Regions from separate parts of the Homo sapiens genome. Here all the other regions are linked to region 3. The links are contacts of gene promoters, found by promoter capture Hi-C in blood cells and fetal thymus (Javierre and others, 2016). All regions are on one chromosome and are shown on one strand. Each heading gives the region's core, a stretch centred on a gene start or on the middle of the fragment in contact. The rest is flanking DNA. Distances are from core to core; before and after follow the strand shown.

Region 1 (4,892 bases), core at 787-3,286, 360 kb after region 3:
TTTTTTGCAGCTGAAACTGTCTCCATTAAACAATAACTTTCTATTCCCTCCTCCCCAGCCTTTGGCAAGCACCATTCTACTTCAGGTCTCTGAATTTGACAGCGCCAGGGACCCCATATAAATGAAATCATTCAGTATTTGTTCTTTTGTGACTGGCTGATTCCACTTAGCACAATGTCCTCAAGGTCATCCGTGTAGTAGCCTGGGTCAGAAATCCCTTCCTTTTAAGGCTAAATAATACTCTGTTGTATATATGGACGAAATTTGTCTATCCGTTCACCCATCAATGGTCACTTTGGCTGTTTTCACCATTTGGCAACTGTAAATAATGCTGTTATGAACATGTGTGTGCAAACATCTGTTCGAGACCCTGCTTTCAGTTCTTTGGGGTCTATACCCAGAAGTAGAATTGCTAAATCAGATGATAATTCTGTGTTTGATTTTTAAATTATATTTAAGTTTTTAAATGGACACATAATAACTGTACATATTCATGGATTACATCATGATGTTTGGATATATATAATTCCTGGTGATCAGACCAGGGTGGTTAGCACAGCCATCATCTCATCGGTCATTTCTTTGTGTTGGAGACATTCAATAGCCTCCTTCTCGCTATTTGAAACTATACGTTATGATTAACTGTAGCAAACACTACCTACAGCCACCATACTTACTGTATTCCACAGTGGCTGCAGCATTTTACACTCCCACCAGCAGTGCACAGGGGGCCCGGTTTCTCTGATAAGGATACTAGATCCTTATCAGATATGTGATTTGCAAATACCTCACCGATACTTATGTGTTGTTTGTTAGTTTTTGAGACAGCGTCTCACTCTGTCAGCTAGGCTGGAGTGCAGTGGTGTGATCTTGGCTCACTGCAACCTCTGCCTCCCGGGTTCAAGTGATTCTCCTGCCTCAGCCTCCTGAGTACCTGGGACTACAGGTGCACTCTACCACGCCCGGCTAATTTTTGTATTTTCAGTAGAGATGGGGTTTCACCATATTGGCCAGGCTGGTCTCGAACTCCTGTCCTTGTGATCCACCTGCCTTGGCCTCTCAGAGTGCTGGGATTATAGGCATCAGCCACTGCACCCAGCCGTGGCTTTTTTTTTTTTTTTTTTTTTTTTTTTTTTGAGACGGAGTCTTGCTCTGTCACCAGGCTGGAGTGCAGTGGCGTGATCTCGGCTCACTGCAACCTCTGCCTCCCGGGTTCATGCGATTCCCCTGCCTCAGGCTCCCTGGTAGCACGCCACCACGCCCGGTTAATTTTTCGTATTTTTAGTAGAGACGGGGTTTCACCATGTTGGCCAGGATGATCTCGATCTCCTGACCTCGTGATCCGCCCGCCTCCGCCTCCCAAAGTGCTGGGATTACAGTCGTGAGCCACTGCATCTGGCCGTTTTTTTTTTTTTTCTAATGACCTGTTAGGTGGTATCTCATTGTGGTTTTGATTTGCTTTCTCTGATGACTGGTGATGTTGAACATCATCTCATGTGCCTATGGGCCATTTGTGTATCTTTTTTGTAGAAAGGTCTATTCATGATTTAATCGAGTTGCTTATCTTTTGGTTGTTGAGTTGTGACACTTCTTTATATCCTCTGGATACTAGATCCTTATCAGATATGTGATTTGCAAATATTTCCCATTCTTGGAATTGTCTTTCCACTTTTCTTCATAGTGTTCTTTAAATCACAAAAGTTTTTAGTTTTGATGAAGCCCAATTTATCCATTTTTTCATTTGTCGCCTATGCCTGTGGTGCCATCTAAGAAATCATTGCCAAATCCGATGTCATGAGGATTTACCACTGTGTTTTCTTCTGTGGGTTTTATTGTCCTAGCTCTTACACTTAGGTCTTTGGCCCATTGGGAGTCAGTTTTTTTGTTTGTTTATTTGTTTTTGTTTTTGTTTTTTTGAGACAGGACCTCACTCTGTTGCCACTACCACCTGGCTAATTTTTGTATTTTTAGTAGAGACGGTTTCACCATGTTGGCCAGGCTGGTCTTGAACTCCTGATCTCAAACGATCCACCCACCTTGGCCTCCCGAAGTGCTGAGATTACAGGCGTGAGGCACTGCGCCCGGCCGGGAGTCAGCTTTTGTGTATAGTGTCATGGAAGGGTCCAGCTTCATTCTTTTGCATCTTTTGCATGTGGATGTGCAGTTATCACAGCACCATTTGGTGAAGAGACTGTCCTTTCCCCATTGTATGTTCTTGGCACCCTGCTGAAAATCATTTGACTGTATATGCGAGGGTTTATTTCTGGGCTCTCTATTCTAGTCTGTCTGTTTTGGTAAGTTGGGTTTTATTAAAACACAGCCACACCCATTCATTTATATATTGTCTGTGGCTGCTTTCTAGAGAGAATGGGCAGAGTCAGAGTAGTTGTGACAGAGAACATCAGGATCGCAAAGCCAGAAACACCATCTGGCCCCCACATATAGCTCCTACCTGCACGGCCCCATCGGCTGCCCCTGGGCCCTGAGTTTCCCGCAGCCAGCACCTGGCCTGGCACACAGGCACCTAGTCAGCACTGGAGTGACTGCCCTCAGGGAGCTGGGAGGACTTCCACGCGCCTCTGCCTGGCTCACCCTCCAGGGATAAAGTAGCAACAAGGTTAAAGTCCTATGGGACCCTTCTTCATTGCCTGAGGGATCCTAAGGGACCCTTCTTTCCTGCTGATTTGGCTGAAGGAAAAACTGAGGGGGCGTAATTGCAGGGAATTGGTTAAACTTTCATAGCATTCTGGGGGCTCCCTGATGCTTCCGATGCTAACCTTTTGGTTGCTGGAGAATGGGAAGGTGGGGAGCAGGTCCAGGCAGGTAGCCATGCAGTGGGAGGGGTCCACTGGGGGCTCAGGGCCAAAGGAGAGAGTGTTTTTCTGTTCAAGGGTAGATATGGAGTAGGCATCTGCCCTCAGTAACAGTGCCTAGCTCGCCTGTGAAATGGGCTAGCGTGCATTCAGCGCCCGGAGAGGGTCTGGTGAGTGCCCACTTCAGGCGCCCAGCCTTGGGCCTGCCAGGGCCAGAGACAAGTGACAGGGGCCAGAACGTTCTGACAGCCTGAGCCCAGGTGCCAGTGTGTGCCCCTCTCGAGTGACTCTGCAGTGAGACAACGTATTCTTGTTCCTGCTCTACTAGTGAGGAAATAGGGCAAGAGGTGGGAAGACTCATCCATGGCCACCATGGTAAAGTGCAAGGCTAAATCAGGGGGCTCATGCAGACCAGCAGCACCAGGACTTTGCTAAGAGGGCCAGGCTGAGGGAATGGGGACAGGAACACCTGTCAAGAGACATCATGGGGGCCCAGACCCCAGAGGGACACAGCAACTCAGTACCACTTCTGGCCAGGCCCTCATCCTGAAACTGAGCTCCTCAGAGCACCTGGCCAGGCAGGACGCCCCAGAGTGAGAGGGGAGAGGACTTGGCTAGAGGAACGGGGGAGGGAAGCGGGGGAAATGAGCTCCAGATGGGGGAAAGGGATGCATTAAATCAGGCCAGGACCAGGTAGGGAAGAGCCAGACTCCCTGGGCGTTACATTGCTCACTCAGCCATGGCGCTCCTCAGCTCACAACCCATCTGTGGCTCCCTGTGGCCGCTAGAAGGAAATCCACATTCCATGGCTCTACATTCAAGGCCGCACCTGAGCTTCCAGCCCCCACAGCCCCCCTGCCCGGCACCTCCAGGGCCTCCCCACACTGCCCAGCCTGGGGCTTCCTGCTTGTCCTGCCTCACTCACCCACGCAGGCTGCTCAGCCTCTCCTGAACCGTGCATGGGCCCTACCGGCTCCCGCACTGGCTGAAATGCCACCTCCTCTCCAAATCTTCACAGTGCTTGGCTCTTCTCTTTGGCACCCGTCACCCATCGTCCTTCCAAGGTCACATATTTGTAATTCTTTTTTTTTTTTTTTTTTGAGACGATGTCTCACTCTGTCACCCAGGCTGGAGTGCAGTGACGTGATCTTGGTCCACTGCGACCTCCACTTTCTGTGTTCAAGTGATTCTCCTGCCTCAGCCTCCTGAGTAGCTGGGATTACGGGCACCCACCACCATGCCAGGCTAATTTTTTGTATTTTTAGTAGAGACAGGGTTTCACCATGTTGCCCAGGCCGATATTGAACTCCTGGCCTCAGGTGATCCACCTGCCTCTGCCTCCCAAATTGTTGGGATTACAGGCATGAGCCACTGCACCTGGCATATATTTTTTTATTTTAAAAAATGTCAGACCCAGGGAAAATTTGAAATAACAACACAATAAATACCTATACAGACTTTTCCTGGGTCCCCCACCTGTTAACATCTTCTGTGGCCAGTCCTTCTCTCCCTGTGGGAACATTCACCTGTGTCCCCCTTTTGCCCACCTGCAGGCCATGAGTGCCGTGACACCCCACCTGTAATTCTTGGGCATATATCCCCTGAGAACAGGGACACTGTCCTAGAGAGCCACACCCGAGAAAAACACCACCAATTCTGTATCCCCACCCGCATCCTGCAGGTGTAATCAGCAGCACATGCGTGGGTTCTCCTTCAGACTCATTCAAGCCAAAATGAGGCTGAAGTCACTTCTGGCCCAGCCTGGCCCCTCAGCACAGGTGTCTGCTGTCATGTCTGGAGCATTTCCTTCCAGAATCTTCTGTGCATTTGCATCAACAGTGTGTGCACACGCTAAGCCTACTGTATCCCATGTAAGCTTTCTTTTCTCGTGAACAGAGTCTCATCGTATGTGGAGACTTCTGCAGTTGGCTCTGTGCTCCCAGCACGTTTTGACATGAGTCATTTGGTGACCTGCAACTTAGCAAAGGCACTGTAGCACATTTTAGCCAGTCCGCCATGGATGGCCATCGGGGTGCTTCCACTGTTTCGCTTTCACCAACAGCTAGGCACACGTGTGAA
Region 2 (4,843 bases), core at 559-3,058, 420 kb before region 3:
GCAGCCACCCCTACCCCTGGGAACTTGGTCCAGACTCAGGCAGACTCCAGCCTACTGCTGCCGGCTGGCTGGAATTCCAAGCCATTGGGTCTCAACCTGTGAGATGCCATGGAAATGGGGCCTGCAGAATGATGCCACTTGGCTCCCCAGACTCAGCCCCCTTCCTAGGGACATGCACAGATGAATCTTCTGCCTTGCCACAGATCCTGGGGCTGGAGTATGCAAAACTCCTGGGTGTCTGTGTGTGCCTGAGTGGCCACTCTGCCAAGACTCCACACAGGCCATGTATCGAGCCCAAGACCCTGGTATTGTGGCTCATGAGGGGATCTCCTGATCCACAGCTTGCAGAGATCCATGGGATGAGTGTAATTTCTGGGGAAGGGTCACGCATTGACTCACCACTTCCCTTGGCTGGGGGTGGGGGTTCCCTTGGCTTGGTGCTGCTCCCAAGTGGGTCATCACCCCACCCCACTTCTTTTCATTCTCTGTGGGTCAAGCTATTTGCTTAGTCAGTCCCAATATGAGAACCCGAATATCTCAATTGAAGGTGCTGAATTCACTTGCTCCTTTCATTCCTCTCTGTGAGTGCCACAGACTGCAGCTACTTCCAATCAGCCATCCTGGCCCCTCAACAACCAAATGTGATCAATTCTTAGTATACCATCCATACACATGCTGAAATACCAAAAAAGATTTCTGAAAAGAAAGCAAAATATTACAGAAATAAGTGCAATTACTATTTCAGCACAAGATTTTTGGTAGAGAGGAAAAGATTAGATTTTGTTAATTTGGGCTCAAATCCAATGCATTTTTCCCTCTACCTAATGAAATATTACTGAATTATCATATGGCTTAGAGACTCCATTGTAGGGTTCACTTATACCCCCACATTTCAACACCTCTGAATCATGATGCATCTTATAATCAATGAAATACCATAGTCTAGGAGGTTTTTTAAGTCTTAGTGGTACACAAAATAATGGCATATCTCACAGTTCATTACAAGTTTGATTTGATAAAATATGGTACATGACCCTCATAAATAGGTTTCCCTTCTAACTTGTTGGTTTAAAAAATAAAAGTAAGGTACTACGAGAGTAGGGACTCTGAATCATACCCTATCATATTCCTATTCCTTTCCAGTGTATTTGAATTTTTATTCTGCTACCTGAATTAATTTAAATTATGCAAAAAATTATAAACACTATACTGAAGAATCTTAAAGCTTATAAGTTTTTCTTTTTGGTATCTGATAATATCAATTTATTAGAATATGTTTACATGAATTCCAAATTTTCCAAATTAATAGAATAATTCAGTATGTACTCAGGATGAATTTAGTGATTTACAAAGTTTCTTTTCCAGGTGATTTTCCCAAACTGGCTTTTCACCTGTATGAGTTCTCACATGTTGTTTATCCACGTGCATGAGTCTTTACATGCCAAGTAATTAATGAACTCTTATACATTCTGATGAATGTAATAAATTGATAATGTTTTCTCCAGTGTAAATTATTTGCTCTCTAAATGAGGTCTTTATAGCTAAAGGCTCTGTGACATAATCATGAGGTTTCTCTTCAATGTGCATTCTCTGTGGTTAATGAGGTATCTAAATAATTTAATACATTGACTATATTAATGAGATTTAGGAGTATTAGGAGTTTTTACATTAGTAAAAGAGAAGTTATTTTGAAAAGTATTTCCACACTAATTACAGTTTATACTGTATTCTCTCCAGTATGAATTCTCCAATACTAATGAAGGATGATTTATAGTTAAAGAACTGCCCACATTGCTAGCATTCAAAGGACTTCTTACTATTGTTGTACAGAAACTGAGCTACAGGTACAAGGTTTCTCACATTTACTACATTCACGGGGTTTGTAGTGGGTTGAATAGTGTCCACCTCCCCCTCAAAATTCACATCCACCCAGAATCTTGGAATGTAACTTTATTTGGAATGGGGTCTTTTCAGATGTAATTATTGAAGATAAAGTCATACTGAAATTAGGATATGCCCTAAATATGATGACTGGTTTCCTTACAAGAAGAGTAGAAGAGACAGAGACACACACAGAGAAGAAAGCCATGTGAGGATGGAGACTGGAGTGATATAGCTACACATCAAGCAATGCCAAAAATTACTGGCAACCAGCAGAATCTAGGAGAAGGGCATAGAACAGTTTCTTCTTGAGAGCCTCCAGAAGGAACAAACTTCCCAAATCCCTTTATTTCTGACTTCTGGCCTCTTAAGCTGTGAGAGAATAAACTCCTGTTGTTTTAAGCCACCCAATTTGTGCTTATCTGTTTTGGCAGCTATAGGAATCTAATTTCCCCTCCTGTGTGATTCTTCTGATATACAATAAAGTATTATCCACTGAAGAAAGCTTTGCCATATTTGTTATATTGATTAGGATTATCATTTCTACAAATTTTGGGTGGCTAAAGAATTTTAACCCCTGGTACTGTGGCTTTTTACTTTAATTAAAATCATAAAAATTCTCTCCAGTATGACTTCTCTATGCACAATGAAGTGGAATTTTCTAGTGAAGGCCTTCCTACATTTATTACACTTATAGGAACCTCTACACTATGAACCTCTTGATGTCTTATGAAGTTTGTTATAACTGAAAGTTGTCCCACATTATTATATTAAAAAAAGTTTTACACATGCATAGGTTGAACTAATAATTTCCCACATTTTTATGTTTATAATATTTCTTGCTAGCACAGTTTCTCTCAACTGTATCAAAATTACACTTCAAATGCCCTCAAATAACTATGAGATGCTGCTTTCCTTGGAGGAATTAGCTTTGAGCTCAGATAAAAACTGGCTTCCAATTTTACTATATTCATTTCCTTTCTCCACAGTCAATGCTTTATTGAAGATGAATGTACCTAGCTTCAAGTCTCCCTCCCCTCCTTTTGAAATAAATTTTACAAAGAGCTTTTCCTTGTGAATATTCTTTCAGTCAACTTAGGAATACCCTTGTTCAGAATTGTCCTATTGTATGTTTCATGTCTCACCTTCTAGAACTATTGAGAGCTCAATTGCAAATGACCTCTTCCCTAGCTGAAAAAGTACTCATTGTAAGACAACTGGTGCAGAAATAAACAATTCAGGGAAGATAACATTTGAGTAATTTCAAACATGATCTTGCATTATGCAGAAAGCCAATAAAATAATCAGAAGGAAGATGAAAAGATGAAAGAGAAAGTATATAGAACAGAGAGTAAGCACAAAGAGGACTGGACAGGAAACGGAGTTACTAGAAATAGCAGCTAGAGTGATGTCAGAAGGGAATGGCAGAATAAGGACCTCCAAAACTCCCCTACTCCATAAAAGCAATGGGAACACAGGCAATAATTATTGAAATCAAGTCTTTCAGAACTCTAGAAATTAACCAAAATCTTATAATAATCCAGAGAGCATTTATTCAAGAAAATGGCTGAATATTGGTAAGGACAGCATTTCTTTTGGCATATAAATTGCTCTATTCTTACTCACTTTATCCCAACTGCACAGCACCTTTGAAAATCAAAAATCAGTAATCATAGTTAAAATCTGCAACCTAGCAGCTACTGGAGAGGAAGAACAGGTTGAAACATCCAACACCCCAATCCTAGACAACTGTCCTTATTTAATCTGGAGCTTCCTAAGAAAGCGCCACTCAAAGGTCTTCTCTTTATTTTACCTCACTCAGATTTCCTGCAGTGTGAAAGGCCTTTTCTCCACAGGCATTCATCAAAAATCATCAATGGCAAGTGTTTAATACTGCAGCTGCCTGAGGTAGTGATAAGAGTGGATCAAATAACAAGCTAACCAAAAAAGCTTTTAAAAAGTAAAATCCAGGGAACAAAGTGTCCATGGGGGGCTTTAAGCATGCATAGGAATAGCATGCATACTCAGGACTATAAGTATGCTAGGAAAGACATGACAAGGCCCTAGGTTCTCACCTGAGGCTGTCCAGGAAGCTCTGCACGAGCCAGAAGTAAAATCTAAGACAGGGTCATGAACTGCCTCTCCAAGTGTTGAGAGCATGCCTAGACACACACACACACACACACACACACACACACACACACAGTGCCCCTCAGCAGTCCAAGAGTCTTAGTTCTATACTTTAAAAAAATATATCTCCAATTCATAGCTGATTTGCATGGTAGCAAAACAGAGAGTTCAGTGGCCACAAATGAGAACAATATACAGACTTTCCTGAATGAGCCTGATCCCATATCTCAGAGCCCACCAGTGTTAATACCCTGGGTGGGTATCCTTTCATCTCATTCTCTTTAGTCATAAAAAGTATCTATCTATGGTTGTTGCCTCCATTTCCTCAACTCCTATTCTCCCAGAATGCATCCAACTGGCTTCTGTTTCCTGCATCTGAAGGAAAGGACACTGGTTCCACTGAGAGCCTCAAGTAACATTCATGGTGCCAAAACTAATGGTTCCCTCTTAGTCACTCTCCTGCTCACTTTCTTAGTGGTCTTCAATGCAAGGTGGCCCCACCTTTCTTCTTGAAATCATCTCTTCTCAGATATCCATGTCATTACATTTACCTCGTTTTCCATCTACCTAACTGGATGTTCTTTTCTATCTCTGTCATAGACTTCTCCTCTGCTCCATCTCTAGATATTGATGTGCCCCAGGACTCACAGAAAGGCTCTCCATGCTTCTCTATCTGCACCCTCTTCCTGGCATTCAATATTGTCCACATGCCTATGCCTCCCAAATGTAGATCTACTTCCCTGTCTTCTCCTGTGGCTTGCAGACCTCTCCACATGAATATCTAATAGGCAATTCAAACTTAACAATGGAAAAATAGAACTCCTCCCACCAA
Region 3 (4,808 bases), core at 1,623-4,122:
CAAAAACATGAGGTGGGAGGATCACTTAAGCCAGGGAGGTTGAGGTGGCAATGAGCCTTGATTCCGCCACTGCACTCTAGCCTGGGTGATGGGAGTGAGACCCTGTCTCAATAAATAAATAAACAAATAAATAAATGCAAGACAAGGTCTTGCTCTGTAGCCCAGGCTGGAGTGCAGTGGCACAACCATAGCTCACTGCACCCTCGAACTTCTGGGCTCAAGTGATCCTCCTGCCTCAGCATTTCAAGTAGCTAGGACTATAGGTGCATACCACCACCCCCAGCTAAGTTTTTTATTTTTATTTTGTAGAGACAGGATCTTGCTATGTTGCCCAAGCTGGTCTCAAACTCCCGGCCTCAAGTGTTCTCCTAGCCTTGGCCTCCCAGAGTGCTGGGATTACAGGCACGAGCCACTGCGCCCGGCCTCCCTCCACCTTCTGATGATATTACAGGAGGCTCAGTGTGGCATGGCCTCGCAACACCTGCCTGTGCTTTGCTCATCTTCCGTTCAAACCACTAATCAGTCTCACAGCCTGCAGGCAATAGTAACCAGCCTGGATTGAATTATACTGTTGTTTTCATTGCATTTACTTTTTTACCATGACCTATTTATGGCAAGTGAAACTGCCTTTTCCCATTTTGATGACATAATGTTTCCTTTTAAAACAAGTTTAAGTGAATTTCCCACCTAAATCAGGCCCCTTGATTACAAACCACAGTTAAAACGATATGCTCTTCGAAGCATCATTTTGCTCAAGGGGATGAGCCCTAAAGGTAGGGCGCCTGGAGCTCTGAGTTCCAAACCCAACTCCGCCTCTTGTAACTGTGTTACTTCAGCCACTAATGGGAGCTGTGTCCTTCCCTGGAAAGAGGTCACAAGCAGGCAGCCAGTGTGCCCAGTTCGGTCTACAGGTGGGCTTTTACAATCTTATAATGAGTGCCATATTAAGAAATCAGGGCCGGGTGTGGTGGCTCACGCCTGTAATTCCAGCTACTTGGGAGGCTGAGGCAGAAAAATTGTTTGAACCTGAAAGGCGGAGGTTACAGTGAGCTCCTGAGCCTCTGCTGCGATTGTGGTGCCTACCCCGAGGGCTGCTGTGAGGACTGGACTGGAATTGGGTGCACATGTTTCCTAATCATTCTAGGACACAATTTCCCCCATCTGTAATCAAGAGAGGTGCGGTGGAGGTGCTCTACCTCCTGACTCTCTGAACCTTAGGAAATGGACTCCTCCAAGCTTCACCTTCCCTGTGCCCATCAGTAATCAGCTACCTTTCCACTAGGCCTCTTGGGCAGAGGCAGGACTTAGGCCCACAGGATGGGGAGCCAGGGAGAGTCTGAGTCAGGGACATCATATCGTGATTAGGAGTCTGTGTTGGAAAAATCATTTTGGGCGGAAGCATGGGTGGAAGGCCATCCGAGGGCTGAAACTGAAGATGGGAGAGAGCCTGAGGCTTATGTTGGGGATGAGGACGGAGAGGACAGGTGGGTTGGAGGAAGCAGATGAGAGTCCAAGGGGGACCTTCCATACCTTTTAGGAAATTGATCACTTTGCCCCATTTTCCGGCATCAAAGGGATGCAGCTTCTCCAGGCCCATGAAGGTGATGTTGTAGCGCGGCGAGTACACGATTGGCCAGCGTGTCTCTGGCACATGCTGGTACAGCTGGGTTGTGTGTAGCCTACCGTGTGGAAAAAGACAGACGCACAGCTGGGGCAGCCTCGGCAGAAAGCAGCTCCCTCCCGAGCCCGCCTGGACTGACCCACCAGCCATTGCCCAGCACCACTAGCCCCTCAGCCGCAGACAAGGGCCCCTCAACAACAGCTGCTTAAACTGGCTGCCTTTCCCGGAACCCAATTCCAATCCAGTCCTCACAGCAGCCCTGGGGGTAGGCACCACAATCGCACCAGAGGCTCAGAGAGCAGACCAGGTGTGCCCAAGGTCACAGTGCAGGTCTGTGGAGAAGCAGGCGTGCACTCAGGTGTGTCTGGCTGCAAGGCCTCCGCGCATCACCTCTGCACCGTAATAAATGCCCCCACAGCTGTGTGGCACAAGGCTTCGGCTGCAAAATGTGTGGCTGTTGTGAGGACTCAGAGAATGCAACTGAGGAGCTGAGCACAGTAAGCACTCAGAAACCCAAGTCGGGACCCAACCTGAGCCAGGGCGGGGGGCGGGGATCCCCTGACCCCGCTGCGCTGCTAACCCTTCCCATCACACCCTGGCAGTCGTCACCCAGAGACAGAAATCCGCCCCAGTGGCTGCCTCCGTGGGGGCGTCCGCGTAGCCAGGGGGCTGGGCAGCGCAGACGTCAGACCCGCGCACATCGCCCGACCGCTCCGGGTCCGGGCCCAGGCCCGCGGCCGGCGCGCGTCCCTCGGGCCACCGAGCAGGGGCGCGGGGCTGGCCTGGCGCGCCGGGAGGGCCTGGAAACACCCGTCCCGAGCGTCCCTCACCCCTCACCAGCAAATCTGGGCCCTTACCTGGCGCGCCCGCCCGGCCGTCCCCGCCCTCGCCCTAGCGCGCCCGCCCACCGGGACCCCTGGGAGCCCACCCCCGCCCTCGCCCCGCGGCACTCACATCCCGGGGCCGGCCCTCCCAAAGCTGGCCGCAGCTCCGCGACCGGGCGGGGCGGGGCGGGGCGCGGGTGGGGCCAGCCCAGGACACGCCCCCGGGCTTAGCCGCGTCCTCTGGGGGCAGAGCTCTGGCCGATTTGGCCCGCCCCGCCAGTGTTGCGACACAGAGAGCCTGCCCGCAGGAAGGCCACCCCCAACGCCCATCAAGCCCGAAGTCCCGCCTCCGCAGGCAAATACCCGGTGGAATCCCGCCTGGTTCGGAAGCTCCGCCCCCTGGCGGGAGGGCCAAGCGGGTTTCACCCCGGCCTCGCGGAAGGGGCGCGACCACCGTATGTCCTGTTCCTGCGCTTCCCAAGCTGGGTAGAAACGGCGAGAGGCTGGGGGTTAGAAACGACAGGTTCCCGGCGGGCTGTGCCGGGGCTTCGCTGTGTGACCTTGGGCTGGCGTCTGGGCTCTCTGGGCCCTTGTTTCCGCGAGTTAAACGTAGGGGCGGGGGAGTTTCTCTGGCCCTGCCGCCTGTGACCTAAGGAGCCCCGTGACCTCTCCGACCCGAGCCCACCCCCGGCCCAGTCTGCGAGCAGCTCCGGGACAAGCACTCCCGGCGAAGACATGTAGGCTCTCAGAGCCTGCGTTTCCCTCTGTAGAGCAGGCCTAGTTACTGTCTTCAGGGTGCACGCGTCTCCGTCCCCGACCCGCACCCTCACCGCCGGGGTAAGCTGAGCCAGGCCCAAGCGACAGCTGGGGTTGTCCGTGGGGCTGCAACCCAGGAGGAGGCCCCAACAATAGAGCCCCAGAGGACGGAGACAATGGGCCTCTCTGTCGGCCCAGCCGTCCCCGCCATCCAAACAGAAGCAGCTGACGGAGGACTGCCGGGCTGGGATCCCTGGGCTCCGCGGGGGCGGCTGTGTGCCAGGGCGGGGCACAAGGGAAGCGCACAGACGTTTGAAGAGGGGCCCCCGTGTGCCTGCCATGATTGCATGATGGCATCTGAGCCTCACAACCTAATCCTGAGAAAGGTGCCATAATCACCCCAACTTTATCTTGAGGGAACTGAGGTTCGGGCCTGGATTAAACCCAAACTCGGCCACCCGCCAGCATAGTGGCTTTGGGCAGGTTGCTTCAGCCTTCTGGTCCTTCATGTCTGCATCTGAAAATGAAGTACTGGGCCGGGTGCGGTGGCTCACGCCTGTAATCCCAGCACTTTGGGAGGCCGAGGCGGGTGAATCACCTGAGGTCAGGAGTTCGAGACCATCCTGACCAACATGGTGAAACCCCGTCTCTACTAAAAATACAAAAAATTAGCTGGGCGTGATGAAGGGCGCCTGTAATCCCAGCTACTCGGGAGGCTGGGGCAGGAGAATCGCTTGAACCGGGGAGGGGAGGTTGCGGTGAGGCCGCGCCATTGCAATCCAGCCTGGGCGACAAGAGTGAGACTCCATCTCAAAAAAAAAAAAAAGGAAGAAAATGAAGTTCTGGTTGCACTTCATTCTCTGGATTTCATGGGCAAGTCCAGGGAATCAAGAGACAATAATGTTGATTATTATTCAGAGACCATCTGTCATGTGCTAAGTTGAAGTCCAAATGCTTTTTGCTTGTCGAACTCTTCTGACAGTCCTAGGAGGCAAACTATTGTCATCCCCATTTTATAGATAAAGAAATTGAGGCACAGAATGGTGAAGTAACTCACTCAAAGGTCAGGGATGTGGGCAGATGTAAACCACAGAAGGAATAAGTACTATTTTATAAAGTGACAGAGTGCATGCAGTGGCCCTGTGGCATTTGTGAGAGACCGACTTCCCCTCAGGGAACTTGCTCTGTAGTTTGGGAAGCCACACAGATGATCCTCTGGTTGGGAGAATGAGGATCTGGGCAGCCTGGACCTGAAGCTGAGGCCAAAGAGAGTGGGATTGGTCTGAATAAGTGGGTTTTTAAATTTTTTTAATTTTTAAATTATTTTTTAAGAGACACAGCCTCACTATATTGCTAAGGCTGGTGTCTAACTCCTGGGCTCAAGCGATCCTCCCACCTTGGCCTTCCAAAGTGTTGGGATTACAGGCATGAGTCACAATGCCTGGCCAAGGGTTTTTAAAATTGTGTCCTGGTAGCTAAAGAGTTAAGTGGTCTGCGGAGGCCCTGGAGCTTGTGAACACCTTCAAACCACCATGAAAGCCTGGGCCAACCGGCCGCATTATCACGTGGGGAAGAAATAAGTGTTATGCACGCTGCTGTGTTTGGGG
Region 4 (4,189 bases), core at 1,296-3,795, 440 kb after region 3:
TCAGGCTGCAGCTGATAGTTCTTCCGAGATCCAAGGCTGGTGGGTCTCCCAAGGACCAGCCTGCAGCCGGCAGTTCCCATGACGACCAAGGCTGCAGCCCAGGGGAGAAGCCTGTTGGTTTCTATTGGTGTGCAGCTGCGCTTGGTGGGAGCTGGGGTGTCTGAGGGTCTCTGCTTCCGTGTGCTTTGTATCTTGATGTCTTCCAAAAAGAGCATTTTCTGTTTTCACACACACAAAAAAATACTGGAGACTGCGCTTAGAGGAAAGCTCCCTTGATTGGAAGCCAGCAGATCCTTGTTCCAGTCTCGTGGGCAAGAAAGACAAGTGACAGGCAGACTGTCCTGGCAGTGGAGGTGGCTTAGAGGGCTGTGTTCGGTGCATCGATGTGAATTGGGGAGGAGGGGACATCTGTGCTGCGTTGTAGAGGTGACTAGAGGTTGACTGGTTCCCTGTTTGGAGGGTGGGAGACAAGTGGTCCCGGAAGGGAGCACCCTGTGTAAGGACCTGTGGAGGGTGGATGTGGCCGGGCCATGGAGAGGGAGGAGGGGAGTTGGGGGAGGTTTGGGAGGGAGCTTCGTCCTGCTAAAGAGCTTGGCTTCTGGGAGAGGGGGTTTTTGAACAAGCCCAAAAAGAGACTCACAAGGTCGTAGGCCCTGTCCCTGGAGACAGCAACCAAGGGCTGGGCCCCACGTGTCAGGGTTGCAGCAGATGCTATACAGGAAGGAGATGTCAGAGCGACCGACTCTGAAACTCTGGGCTGCAGGGAGCGAGGGGGTGGCCATCTGGGCCCTGCTTCCCTGAGCCAGCTAGGGACTGGCAGCCCCGCCGCGTGCGCTCCTGGAGGACACAGCCAAGTGGTACACACGTGTACACACATGAGCGACACGCTCACGCAGTCACCTGATCCTCTGCACGGACACTCCACAGTCACACCCACATATCATCATAACAGTACTTCCTTTGCTTTGTGAAAGCTGACAGCCCTTATGGCCCAGCGAGTCAGGGCTATTGTTAGCCCACTCCACAGACGTCACCTGCTCAGGATTCGAGACTGCGGGGGCAGAGCCGGGATTTGAACATTTGGGTATCCTGGTGTGAATACTGCCCAACACCGTAGCACACTCCCTGCCCTCATACTAGTAGTTCCTCATATGCCCATTGCATAATCTCACACGCACACACGTATACACACAGACTCCAGAACATTCCCACACCCAGTTCTTCCTGTAGTCAAATGCTAGCATTGTCACTTTTGCACATGGGTGAACACACAGCCCCCATTTTGACACATATGTGCTTGCGGGCTCACACTGGTACACACACTCTCACCCCTGATGGGATGGCTCAGGGTGCCAGCAGGCGTGTGGGTTCCTGTGTCAGGGTGGCCCCAGGGAAGGAGGCTGAGGAGGCTCCTGTAGGGGCTGAGCCTGGCCTCTGCACCACCCACCCATGCCACGGGCGCCACTGCAGCTCCATCTGAATTGTCCACTCCGCCGGCCAGTCAGTCAGGTGCCCTGCTCGAGGCCAGCCCAGGAAAGTTCTGGTATGCAGGGAGTGTGGATGGGGCTCTTTGTTCTAGGATGTGTGGGGGCCTAGCAGGTTCCGTGCTCCTGCCCACTTGGGTCTCACTGCACAGCCCTCCATCGGATGGAGCCACACTTGACCTCAGAGCCAATGCCCCAGTGCCTCACTCCCTGGAGGACAGAGCAGGGATCAGAGCGGAGGCCGTAGGAGCCCCTCAGCTCTGCTGTTTCCCCGCCTGCATTCAGCCACATTTCCTGAGCACCTGCGGGTGTCGGGCACTCAGGATCCCTCGTTGAGCAGTCCTGCTGCCTTCACAGAGCATCTGTGGCAGGCAGGAGCACAGGCAGCAAGCAGAAAAAGAAACTGGTTTTTAACATAACGTGTCAAGTGGTGACAAGAGCTATGGAGAAAATAAATCCAGGTGAAGGGAATAGACAGAGATGGGAGGGTGGCCAGGGAAGGCCTCTGGGCCTGGAAGCACAGGAGGGGTGAGGAGCATCCCAACAGTCTGGTGGGAACAGCGGTGCAGAGGCCCTGGGGTGGAGCATGCCTGGAGGAGTGGCCAGGAGGCAGATGCTAAGTGGGGCCTGCCCCATCCTGCCATCTTGCCTTGGCATGCGTCCTGACTCCCAACCCTCACAGCAGCCTCAGACACAGACAGGGCCAGGATCAATGTTCCCCTTTCACAGATGAGGGTACCTGAGACCAGAAGAGCATTGGTGCCAGGTCCAGGACTAGGGCCCAGGGCCCCCGCTGCTACCAGAACTCTGTGCCCTTTTTGTGCAGTGGAGGCACCAGCTCTGCTGCTGGGGGCAAGCTTCTGAGAATCCCAGCCTTCGGAGGTTCTGGAGGCCTGTGCACAGCCTAGGAATTCAGAAACAAAGGTCCCAGCCAGTAATTGCTGCCTTTCAAAGGCACAGCCGGCTTCCTCTGCCACAGGCGTGAGAGGGAAGCTAATGTCCTTCTCCAGGAGTGTGGGGGGGCGGGGGAGGAGTGGGCAGCACTTCAGGGCTGCTGGCCCCGCCTGTGCTACCTTGCCAAACAGGCTCATCACACTCGGCAGATCGCCTCTCCCCTGCCTGCCCCCAGTTATCAGCCCAAGTTGGGGTGTCTTGCGTCCAGCCTGGGTCCATTCCGATGACACTGGGTGTCCCCCTTTACCTCTGGCCTCGCACTCCCCGACTGTATTATAAGAGGCTTGGACCCAGCCATTTGGAAAGCTTTCCCTTTCCAGCCATCCAGGACGGGTACCTCCAAGGGAAAGTGACTACAGACAGGGTCTCCCAACCTTGGCACTACTGACATTTTGGGCAGGACCATTCTCTGGTGTGGGGGCTGTCCTGTGCATGGTAAGGTGTTTAGTGACATCTAAATGCCACTGGATGCTGGCACTCTCTCCCCATTTGTGACAACCAAAATTTCTCCAGATATTACCAGATGTCCCTGGGGGTGGGGGGATGACCCAGACGCCTCTGGTTGAGAACCATTGCTCTAGAAGCAGCATTTTTGCTAATGACACTGAGAAAATGCCACCTGAGGTGGGAGACTTTGTTCTTTGGCTTTGCATGGGGTGAGATCAGGCCTCTGGTTCCCAGCCTGGCCCTTGGAAGCTGAGCAGCCTTGCTAGAGGCACACAGAGCCTTGTCTTTTTTGTGGCACCAGCTCCCATCCGACCGCCTGGATGTCACCCCCCTGAGCAGCAGCTCCTGGACTCTGTGTGCACACCTCTGGGGATGGGGTCTTCTCTGTGCCTCTGTTTCCTCATCTGAGGGGGAGTGGGGAGGTAGCAAGACCTCCTCGTCTGAATGGAGTGTGACCACTGCTTTGCAAACGATGTCGGGTTGTGCAAACCTGGGCCCCAAAGCGGCCAGAGGGGGTGAGTGTGGTGCCTCTGAGAGCCTTTCACACACTATACAAGATCCTTCCTTCCTTCCACAAATGATTATCGAGGCTCCTCCAGTGGGCCGGCCCTTAAAAGAGATGTGGCCCCTGCCCTGGAGTCGTTGCTTGTAGTCAGGAGAAAGACAGTTAACAAGTAAACATGCAAAAGCAGGATCCTTTCAGAGGATGGGATGTCCCATGGAAAGAATCAGACAGGGTAGTGGCTGAAGGGGGCTGAGCTGCTATAGCTTAGACACGAGGGGTGCTGGAGTGGGACCTGACTGACGAGGAGGAGCGGAGCTGCAGGAAGTGCACCCGAGAGCAGACTGCATGGAACCAAAGGGTGTGCCGGATTCATGGGGGTGAGGGTGGCTACTGTATCTGGGACCCAGAGCCTCAGACTTTCAGGTGGCTAGTGTGTGGGAAATGGGCCATGGGAGGGTTGGAGCAGACGCCGGGACCAGCCAGATCCCAGGAGATACAAGGGGAGAGGTGAGGGTGGGCCAGGGACTCCTTTCCTATTGTCTGTGACTGCCAGGTCCCCTGGCCTGTGGGGCCACCCATTCTGCCTGGGGTCCCTCTGCCCAACAATGCGCCTGGTTGTCTGTGGCCCTGCAGCTCAGCCGCTCCCCTCCCTGGTTAGCGACAGGATTCCCCTGCCGGCAGCCAATGAGCGGCTGTCATAGCGGTTCCATTTTAGATTTTATCAATGTGTCCCCGTCGCCCAGGCAACGGCAGGCGCTGGGCGACCCTGTCAGTCTTCCTTCGCCTGCCTTTCAGAGCC
Region 5 (4,606 bases), core at 1,356-3,855, 410 kb before region 3:
GGCATGCCTTACTCCATTTCTGAGCTGGAGAAATCAAGGGCCACAGAACAGTGGGGACCCACTGTTCCCTTCTCTGATCCCTCTAACCTCTATCAGCTGATTTCTCACTGGTATGAGGAAGAAGTGTCCCAGTCACCATTGTATCCAAATGCAAGGGGCTCCCCTGGGATGAGTGAGCCGCTCTCCCTGAGAGAGGTTTGAGCACAGTTGGCCACTACTCAGTGGAGATGGGATAGACTTCCCTCCACCTCTGCCAGGAAGTCCAACTTGGGAGGTCTTGAGGGGGACCTGGGCATCTGTTTCATACCTAAGTAATTTGGATGCACATAGTAGTTTGAGAAACAGTGGCCCTGATCATCTTTAAGATTCCTCTGATCCTAGAGGGCTGGATTCCAATACACATCTTTATCGCCATAATCATCATCATCAAATAACTATCATGTGTTGAGTGCATGCTATGTGCCAGTTGCTCTGTGAAATGTGAATGTGTTATATATATGATTGCTGTAACCTATGAGATGGCATTATTATTATCATCATCTCCATACAGATACGGAAATAGGCTAAGGGAGGTTCACCATTTTCCTAAGGTCACACAGCAAGAGGCTGAGCCGAGACTCAAAGCTGGGTGTGTTGCCCCAGTGCCCTAGCAGTATTTCATATCCAACTCTGCCCCTAGCTGGCTATGTGCCTTTGGAGCCTCTCGGGCCTGCAATGGGGCTCAGTCTCCCCACCTGTAGGATGGATTGTCTCTTTGCAGCCTCTTCCACAATCTTGGCCCCCAGATTCACAAACAGATTGATGGTTCAGCAAGGGAGTCAATAGGACTTTGGCAGCAGGGGGAGGGAGACATCAATTTTCCAGCCCCAAGGCCCATGTTCCAGCTCCTCCCAGTCAGGATGCTCTGGTCCTACCCATTCTGCCCCCAACTCCTGCCCCCTTGATAACACTGAATCACTGGCCTGGGTGAGGCCTACCTCGTGCATAGCAGTGGGTATTAGGAATGCTGGGATGGAGATGAAATCTATGTAGGCGAAATCAGTGCAAAGGAGCCTATTATTAGCAGGAGTGAGGAGATGTGGGAGAAGACAAAAAGGGAATGGAGACATGTGTTAACATAAGTGCCAGACACTCAGCTAGACGCTCAGCTAGATGCTGGGTAAGCAACTTAACCCCTCAACATCTCAATTTTCTCTTCCGGAAAATGAGGTTTTTATGAGGAGTGCATGAGAATCATCCAATTATTCATGTGTCTAACAATTATTCATCAAGGGCCGCCCATGTTCCAGGCATCATTCTATGAAATGCAGCTGTTAAGTAACAAATATTCCTACTTGTGGGGCAGACAGTGCAATGAGGAAGATAGACAAACAAAAGTCAACAAATACACAATGTAAAGTTGGGGGGTGCTGATACATTCTAGGCATATAAATAAAGCCAGAGTAAGAGGTGGTCTAGACAGTGCCATGAAAGCGCAGGGTACTCAGGGGTCACCCCCATGGGGCAGCGATGTGGGAGGTGATATTCTGCTTGAATGAAGTAATGGGTGAACCATACAGCCATCTGGGAAAAGTGCTGCCAGCAGCAAAGAAATATAAGGCATCCATCAGACAGCCTGGCACATACTAGGTCCTCAGTAAATTGTGCATGCTATCACAGTGCAAAGAGAGAGGCTGTTTCCTTATTTGAGCAGATGGATGGTCTCTGTGTTCCTGCTGCTCCCCAGCTGTAGGAATGTAGTCTTCAGACCCCAGCTTTTTGCCCTGCCTGCTCTAATCCTGGGAGAGAGGACCTGGGGGCCAACAGCTCCAAGGCAGAAGGAGGAAGAAGAGATTCCATCGGAGGCAGCACAACCTCCTACCAGCCTGGCGCACAGAGGGGGGCTCCCCAAGCAGACACCATGGTGCCAGTCACAGGAGTTGAATGCTGGATAGCCACAAAATAATAGAGGCTGATCTCACTGGTGAAAACCCACATGGGACTGGATAACAGCCCTGCTCTGACAATGTGGGTGCCTTCCCATCTACAGGATGAAGGCTACAGGCCTTTACAATTGACACCCTAATGGCTTCTGCCACCTCCTTCCCACCTCTCCTTCTTTCCAGCTCCTCTGCTCTCCACGGGCTGATTACCCGGGGTCTGGTGATCATCACTGGGTGTGCAGCTCTGGGTGCCCTCTGGAGGTGCCCATGTCAGGGGATGGGGAGCAAACAAACACACAGATGAGGCTGTGGTGTTTGTGGTGTTTATGGTGGCTGCTTGAACAGGGGCTAGCACAGAGGCTGTGGAGGTCAATATCCTTTTGGAGGAGTTGGCCAGGGATGGCTTCTGGAGGAGGCAAAATGAAGCTTGTTCAGTTCTCAGCTCTTCAGAGCCTTCTCTGGTCACACTACCTGAGGTTCCCCACGGAGCTGTTCTGTGTCACAGCTCTGAATTTCATTTTCTTCTGAGAACTTTCCCACATGAGAGTATTTCTTTCCTTCATCAATTCATTCAACAAAAATGATGCTCCCGCTGGGTGCAGTGGCTCACGCCTGTAATCCCAGCACTTTGGGAGGCCGAGATGGGCGGATCACAAGGTCAGGAGATGGAGACCATCCTGGCTAACATGGTGAAAGCCCGTCTCTACTAAAAATACAAAAAATTAGCTGGGCATGGTGGCGGGCACCTGTAGTCCCAGCTACTCGGGAGGCTGAGGCAGGAGAATGGCGTGAACCCAGGAGGAGCTTGCAGTGAGCCGAGATCGAGCCACTGCACTCCAGCCTGGGCGACAGAGCGAGACTCTCTGTCTCAAAAGAAAAGAAAAAAAAAATGCTCCCAGTACAGGGCTCCCAGCAGCTCCAAACACTTACTGAAAGCTTTGGCTATGGTTTATGCTGCTGAAGTTTTCTTCTAAGCATCAATGAAGAAAACGGAGGGACCAAACACAGGTGGAAAGTCTCTATAATCTCACCCTGGGGGACCCGCCGTTAGAGACCACCTTAAACACAAACACCCTTTCTTGATCCGTGGCAGCACCAATGGTGGCGGTGGCCTCTCTCTTAATTTAATTTACAAGCGTGTACACGGCACTGGCTATGTTCCTGGCAATGTGCTAAGCACTTTACTTGTAGTATCTCAAACCTCAAAACTACCCAAGGAGGTAGAAACCATTACTGTGCCCAGTTTACAGATAAACTGAGGCAACGAGGGATTTAAGTAACTTTTCCAAGGTCACAAAGATAATAAACGGTGGAGCCAGGATGTGGACACCTCTAGAGCCCTCACTGACAGCAGTGTCTGGTATACAGCAGGACTCCATATCCCTTAGAGATTATTGCTGTGGCCGAGATCTAAGCTGATCTCCTTCTGTATCCAGCAGGGGGCGACAAAGCACCTGGCTGACTGTGCACCTGCCCCAGGTATGGTTGATTTGGCTTAAAGAGGAACAGTACCTGCTGAAGAGGTATCCTTCTCACTTCTTAATCCAGGCAGAGGGAGCTAAATGGGGAGAAAAATTCTGGGCTAGCATGACTCTGCCAAAGAAGAACTTTCTGCAATGGGTCCCATTGAAACAGTCATGAAACCGTTATTCACACTAGGTTCCAGGTTTTGGAATGAATCCTTGGAGGAGCTCCCAGTCAGGTGAAGGATTAAATTACCTGAACATTATTAGGCCCACAGAAATCCAAACAAGTTAAAAATAAACCGTTCTGGATCACGAAGCTAGTAGGTCTCAGAGTTGGGATTCAAACTCAGACCTATCTGACCCAAAAGTCTGAACTCTTTTTACCAAACCATGGTCCTCATGTTGATGAAAGCCCTGTCCTGGGTGCTGGAGACAGAGATGAAGGATACAGCGTTTTTCCCACAAGGAGATTATGTCCTGATGGAGGAGGGAGGGGAGTGAGGCCATACAACATTTGGGGTGGGAAGGGCTCTGCCAAGATCAGCACAAGAAGGGTGAGAGCACAGAGGAAGAGATGCATTAAAAGGTGGTCCCTTTGAAGATCATATCTATTGTGTTTACTGCTGTACCCCAGCAGTGAACCCAGCCCAGGGCCCAGCACAGTTTAATCCTCAACGAATGTTTGATGACTGAATGAATGAGGAAGACACCAAGTGCCTAGGATAGGAGTAATGTAGATCAAGGAAGGCTTTTCAGATGAGTTGACATTTGGGTGGGATTTGGAGGATAAGTTAGAAGTTTACCAGGTAGAAAAGAGCTAAAGGCATTCTAGACATATGCAAAGGAAAACAGGCTGCAGTAGTAGTCTCTCAACTTTTTAAAAAATCCTAACCCAAAATGTATACACATACACATCCAATACACACACACACACACACACACACACACACACACACGCACACACACAGTTGGAACCTTATGCATAATGCCCTCTGTTATTTTCTGATCTATTTCTTTTTGTAAATGCTAGTGGCAACCCACTAATTTGTTGTGATATGTGCACAAGTGTTTGGGGAAAGTGGAGGCTGTAAAGGTAATTTTGAGCTAGACCATAAAGATCTCTGGATGTTAGGCTGGTAAGATGGAACCCTTTTTAGTTCTGCCTCTCCTTCCTTCCCTGTGAAGCCAAACACTACAAATTCCTTTTCCTTCTCTCAC
Region 6 (4,299 bases), core at 110-2,609, 490 kb after region 3:
GCACACATATACCCATTCCCAGGTGGCCCGGCACCATTTGGTGAGAACCGTGTTCTTTTCCCTACCTGCACTGCCCCCAGCACGTACCATACCTCTCGCTACAAGGCAGGCAGTGGCCCAACTGCAGGCTGTGGGCTGGGAGGTGGTAGGGACAGGGCGAGGGCAAGGCGGACAGCCCTCCCCGCCCCCAGCAGGACCAGCTGCTGCTCCTGCCAAACAGGTCTGTGGGGCTGCAGTGTCACGTGTCTGGCTGGCGCTGACTCGGGAGCTGGCGGATTAAGCAGGGGCTCAGGGTTTATGACCCGCACTGGCCGCAGCACCAGATGGGGGACGGCTGAGGGAGCTCATCTGTGTGGGCAGCAGAGGAGGCCTGAGAAGCCAGCCAGGCTGCGGCTGTTTGTGGCAGGAGGCCCCCACCCACAGCACTGGACCAAGGTAAGGGAAGGGTGGGATGGGCCAGCCCCACTATTAGTATCTCTAGCTGGAAAATAAAATGTCCCCTCCCAAGCTCCTTCTATCTTGGTCTGTTGGGGCAGCTGAGATCTGGGAGATGCCACAGCCCACAGCAAGCCCCTGCCGGGTCTCGGTCCCCTGTGGGGAGCACACATGAGCTCACATATGCGCACAGGCACCCTGCCAGCCTGGTTCTCGTCCCAGCTCCTCGTCCTCTTCAGTGCCTAGTATGTGCCTCTGGGTGGGAGGGTCACTGCCAGCCGTTAGCCTGCCCCCTAGACCCTGGTGCCTTTCCCCAGGCGGTGCCCCATGCCTGGCCTGGCAGGACGCAGCCAGTAGAGGACCGACCTCCCACTCTCGGGTTCACCAGGCAGGGGAGAGGGGAAGGGAATGAGTGCGTGCTGAGCACCTCTGTGTGTCAGATACCTCATCTTGGGCCATCGTTACTCCTGCCTTCCAAGGTAGGAAAGATTCACCTGTTTCATAGATGAGGAAACTGAGGCTCACAGAGGGGCTGAGGATGGCCACCTGCATCTCAGTAGTCTGCCTGTGTGACCCCAAGGAAGCTGCAGGCTCTGCTCCTGGCCCCCGGGGAACTCTCAGTTGTCTGACAAGGCACATTGCCTCTGGCGCAGGGCTGCTGTTACCTGGGGCTCCAGGGAACTCTAGGCCTCTGGGGAAAAAGTCGGGACAAAGAGCAGGAGCCAGAGCCTCAGGTCCCAGCCCAGCTCCCAGCCCAGCCTGTGACGTAGCCTTCCCTGTAGCATGCTGTCAGCCTTGGCCAGTGGGTGTGACCTGGGCGCAGGGGTCCAGCCTGCGGTGACCTTGCTCCATTTCCTCGTTTGTAGCATGGAAGATGTCAGTAATAGCATCTCCCTCCTCAGGTCGCTCAGGCTGAAATGAGATGGTAAAGAAGGGCTTTCAAAACATGGCCCAACAGGCAAGGCCCATGGGCACTCAGTCAACCCTAGCTTTCATTTTTACAGAGAAGGTCAGTATCTGGGGTCCCTTCATCTTCTGAAATTCTGAGCTCCTGTCTCTTTCTTTTCTGCCTGGGCCATTTATGTATGGGTTTAGATCTATGAATTTAATATTTGCTTAGGAAATACAGGCCCATGATGAAAATCTTAAACATTATAAAAGAATATGCAGTGAAGACTATGTATGTGCCCCCCTAGAAACATGGAAAGTATTTTTCAGGTATCTGGTCAAAAACATATAAACGTTTATCACCCTCCATCCCAGACATACTTGGGCAGTTTGGTCCTCCCCTATCCAGTGACCCCCCCCACTCTGCCACCCGTCCTTTAAATCCGCCCACTCTGGCCTGGGGAACCCAGGCTGCTGCCTCCCTCCAGAAGTCACACATATTTGTGGGTGCTGGCACCAGATTTTCCTTGTCAGCAGGACTTAAGGAAAGCTGCAGCCTGGCACAGGGCAAACGGTTGGCGGGGGGGGGGGGATTGTTAAGCAGTAAAGAACGGTGTCTCTGTGCCCAGTGAAGGCCCAAGTTGGAGACCAGCTCTCCCACCCCCAGGCTCCAGCAGATCTGGATCTAGAGCAAGGGCGGGGCCTGGGGACCTGACTCGGGCCCAGCCTGACTGCCAGCTGGCCATTGGGTGACCTTGAGGCAGCCCTGGCCCTCTCTGGGCTCCTGACTCAGTGTGGGAGCCCAGCGTGTATGGCAGCCTCAGTGAGAGGGCTGAGGGTGTGCCCCCTTCAAGACCCAAGCAAGCCATACCTCACCCAGCCCACTTGGGCTAAAGCCTGTGATGTAGGGATGCAGTCTTGATTGCCTTAAAAATTTGACTACTTAAAAATGTAATTGCGGCTGGGCGCGGTGGCTCACGCCTGTAATCCCAGCACTTTGGGAGGCCGAGGTGGGCGGATCACGAGGTCAGGAGATCGAGACCATCCTGGCTAACACGGTGAAACCCTGTCTCTACTAAAAATACAAAAAATTAGCCGGGCGTGGTGGTGGGCGCCTGTAATCCCAGCTACTCGGGAGGCTGAGGCAGGAGAATGGCATGAACCCAAGAGGCGGAGCTTGCAGTGAGCCGGGATAGCGCCACTGCAGTCCAGCTTGGGCGAAAGAGTGAGACTCCGTCTCAAAAAAAAAAAAAAAAAAAAAAAAAAATGTAATTGCTTTAAAAGTGTTAATAGTGCACTGGGAGGAAGCTGAAGGCAGTGCTAAGTCTGGCTAACATGTTTTCTCTTGATCTTGTGACTTCTGGACCTGTAAGCGACTTATCTTTGTCCATGTAAATCTCCTAGGGGGCTGAGGGGTGGGGCTTTATCTTTCCCCAGGAAGGCAGCAGGTGGTTCCATGTGGCTACAGGTCGTGCATGCATGGCCCTTAGGCTTCCCAGCCCCCTGAAAGGAGGAGCAGCATTCACTGTTGGTCTTGGGAGGGTGGCAGGTACCCAGAGTCACTGTCACCCTGTGGGGCAGAACTCCAGGCACTCCCAAATGTACAGATACTCAGGTTGTGCACTGCATGAGGGCAGTTGGCAGAGGAACAACTGCACTCTAATGGCATTCTTGTTAGCTCAGCCCTGGGCCTGTGGGGCTGTATCCACCAGAAGAGGGCGCCTTTTACAAATTTACTCAGGGGCCCTACATGTGGATGGTGAAACTAGACTTGAGTATGCTCGCTAGCAAAGGCATGGGGTCTCCTCCCTATCTCCCCGTGGTCCTCCTGTGCTCAGTTGTCTAGAATCTCCCTCCAGGGACTCTGCTGGTAACCCCAGGGGAAAGGAAACTCCAAACACCTTCCCCGATCCATGGGAGCGGCTTGAGTTAGACCCAGCCTGGTGAATTTCAGAGAGAACTGGACCATGGACCTGACCTTGGGGGCTGGAGGATGGCCTGACTTAGAGAAGGCCTGGGTCCCTATCTCAGTTCCAGCTGTTTCTGGCACTCTGTACCTTGGGTCAGGACAGCTCTGTGCAGACCATCTGTTTACCATGTTACTATCCCCCAGAACCCACGTATGAAAGGCCCTTACCTCTCTGCCTGCCCCCTTGAAGGTAGGTGCTTTATTTTTAAAGGCATGTGGATTTGGGGACAGGGACATACATGAGCTGGGCATATTCATTTCATCCACAAATATTTATCCAGCAGCTAGTTGTGCCAGGCGCCGTGCTGAGGCTGGGCATAAGTGGGGTATGTCGGACAACCTTATTCTTATCCTCACGGAGCTGTCCAGAGGGGAGAGGGAAAGGGAAATTGTCCTCTGAACAGCATCGCCCAGGTGCTGGGAGGAATTGCCCAGCGTGGCCTGTGAGGTCAGCCCAGGCGTCCCTGAAGGAGCTGAGCCAAGAAGGTGGAATCGGGGCTGAGTGGGCTCCAGGGGCTGGCTCAGCACCCCCTCTGGGCACCCTGCTCAAGGCTGGGGCATCACTTCATCCTGGCCGCTCTGTCTCGGGGCTAGGAAGGCCAGGCTGCAGTTCTCCAGCAGGGTGACAGGTGGTGGGTGGGCTGGACCTGCCAAGACCAACCCAGTGAGAGGTGGGGCTGGGGATTGCTTTGGTCAGGCCAGGAGTGAGCCATGCTTCCTCCTGCTCCTCACCCGCCCCCAAGCCAGCACCCAGACTGCAGTTGTCACCACGCCACCTTTCATCCCCTCCGAGGACTGCTCTACCAGCTGTGCCCTGAGCTGTCGTTTTAATCTGATCTAAATTTGCCACCATGCCCAACCTGGGGAAGGTTGGGTGAAACCCCTGTTTGCAGAGGATGGGGCTTAGGTGCTGGAGCTGGAGCACCCAGTTCAGATCTGGATTATGCAGCTGGGGCCAGCGGAATGCTGGCCATAAAGTCCCTGTCTCATAGGAGGGGCAGGTGCAA

The links. Contacts are between HindIII fragments. The CHiCAGO score rates a contact against its expected background, and 5 or more counts as called.
Region 1: a fragment that was not itself captured here is called in contact with the fragment with the promoter of HDAC11-AS1 in region 3 in 1 of 17 cell types (total B cells); the score reaches 5.1 in total B cells.
Region 2: a fragment that was not itself captured here is called in contact with the fragment with the promoter of HDAC11-AS1 in region 3 in 1 of 17 cell types (naive CD4 T cells); the score reaches 5.2 in naive CD4 T cells.
Region 4: a contact is called between a fragment that was not itself captured here and the fragment with the promoter of HDAC11-AS1 in region 3, in 1 of 17 cell types (fetal thymus). The highest score is 5.2, in fetal thymus.
Region 5: a contact is called between a fragment that was not itself captured here and the fragment with the promoter of HDAC11-AS1 in region 3, in 1 of 17 cell types (naive CD4 T cells). The highest score is 6.3, in naive CD4 T cells.
Region 6: a fragment that was not itself captured here is called in contact with the fragment with the promoter of HDAC11-AS1 in region 3 in 1 of 17 cell types (naive B cells); the score reaches 5.4 in naive B cells.

Annotation. Positions count from the first base shown.
Region 1 is chr3:13,113,814-13,118,705 of GRCh38, reverse strand. It overlaps a transcript of IQSEC1 not described here. Among named protein-coding and RNA genes, the nearest start is that of IQSEC1, 43 kb to the right of the region's middle. The HindIII fragment of the contact is 5,310 bases long and covers 1-4,691 here.
Region 2 is chr3:13,899,493-13,904,335 of GRCh38, reverse strand. It overlaps LOC105376957 (a long non-coding RNA gene), which reads right to left. Exons shown (of 3, transcript XR_001740602.3): 3 at 1-696. Among named protein-coding and RNA genes, the nearest start is that of WNT7A, 22 kb to the right of the region's middle. RefSeq lists a silencer at 50-344. The HindIII fragment of the contact is 1,161 bases long and covers 1,228-2,388 here.
Region 3 is chr3:13,478,117-13,482,924 of GRCh38, reverse strand. HDAC11-AS1 (HDAC11 antisense RNA 1) reads left to right here and starts at 2,872. Exons shown (of 2, transcript NR_046690.1): 1 at 2,872-3,282. It overlaps HDAC11 (histone deacetylase 11), which reads right to left and starts at 2,619. Exons shown (of 10, transcript NM_024827.4): 1 at 2,576-2,619; 2 at 1,531-1,679. The coding sequence starts at 2,577. RefSeq lists enhancers at 1,898-2,554, 3,204-3,263 and a silencer at 2,254-2,743. The HindIII fragment of the contact is 8,461 bases long and covers 1,239-4,808 here.
Region 4 is chr3:13,043,008-13,047,196 of GRCh38, reverse strand. All of the region lies in intron 1 of IQSEC1 (IQ motif and Sec7 domain ArfGEF 1), which reads left to right. Among named protein-coding and RNA genes, the nearest start is that of IQSEC1, 28 kb to the left of the region's middle. RefSeq lists enhancers at 1-219, 575-994, 1,435-1,514. The HindIII fragment of the contact is 403 bases long and covers 2,344-2,746 here.
Region 5 is chr3:13,884,358-13,888,963 of GRCh38, reverse strand. No RefSeq gene overlaps it. Among named protein-coding and RNA genes, the nearest start is that of WNT7A, 6.6 kb to the right of the region's middle. The HindIII fragment of the contact is 510 bases long and covers 2,351-2,860 here.
Region 6 is chr3:12,983,107-12,987,405 of GRCh38, reverse strand. The region is part of intron 1 of IQSEC1 (IQ motif and Sec7 domain ArfGEF 1); the gene reads left to right. Among named protein-coding and RNA genes, the nearest start is that of IQSEC1, 88 kb to the left of the region's middle. The HindIII fragment of the contact is 7,589 bases long and covers 1-4,299 here.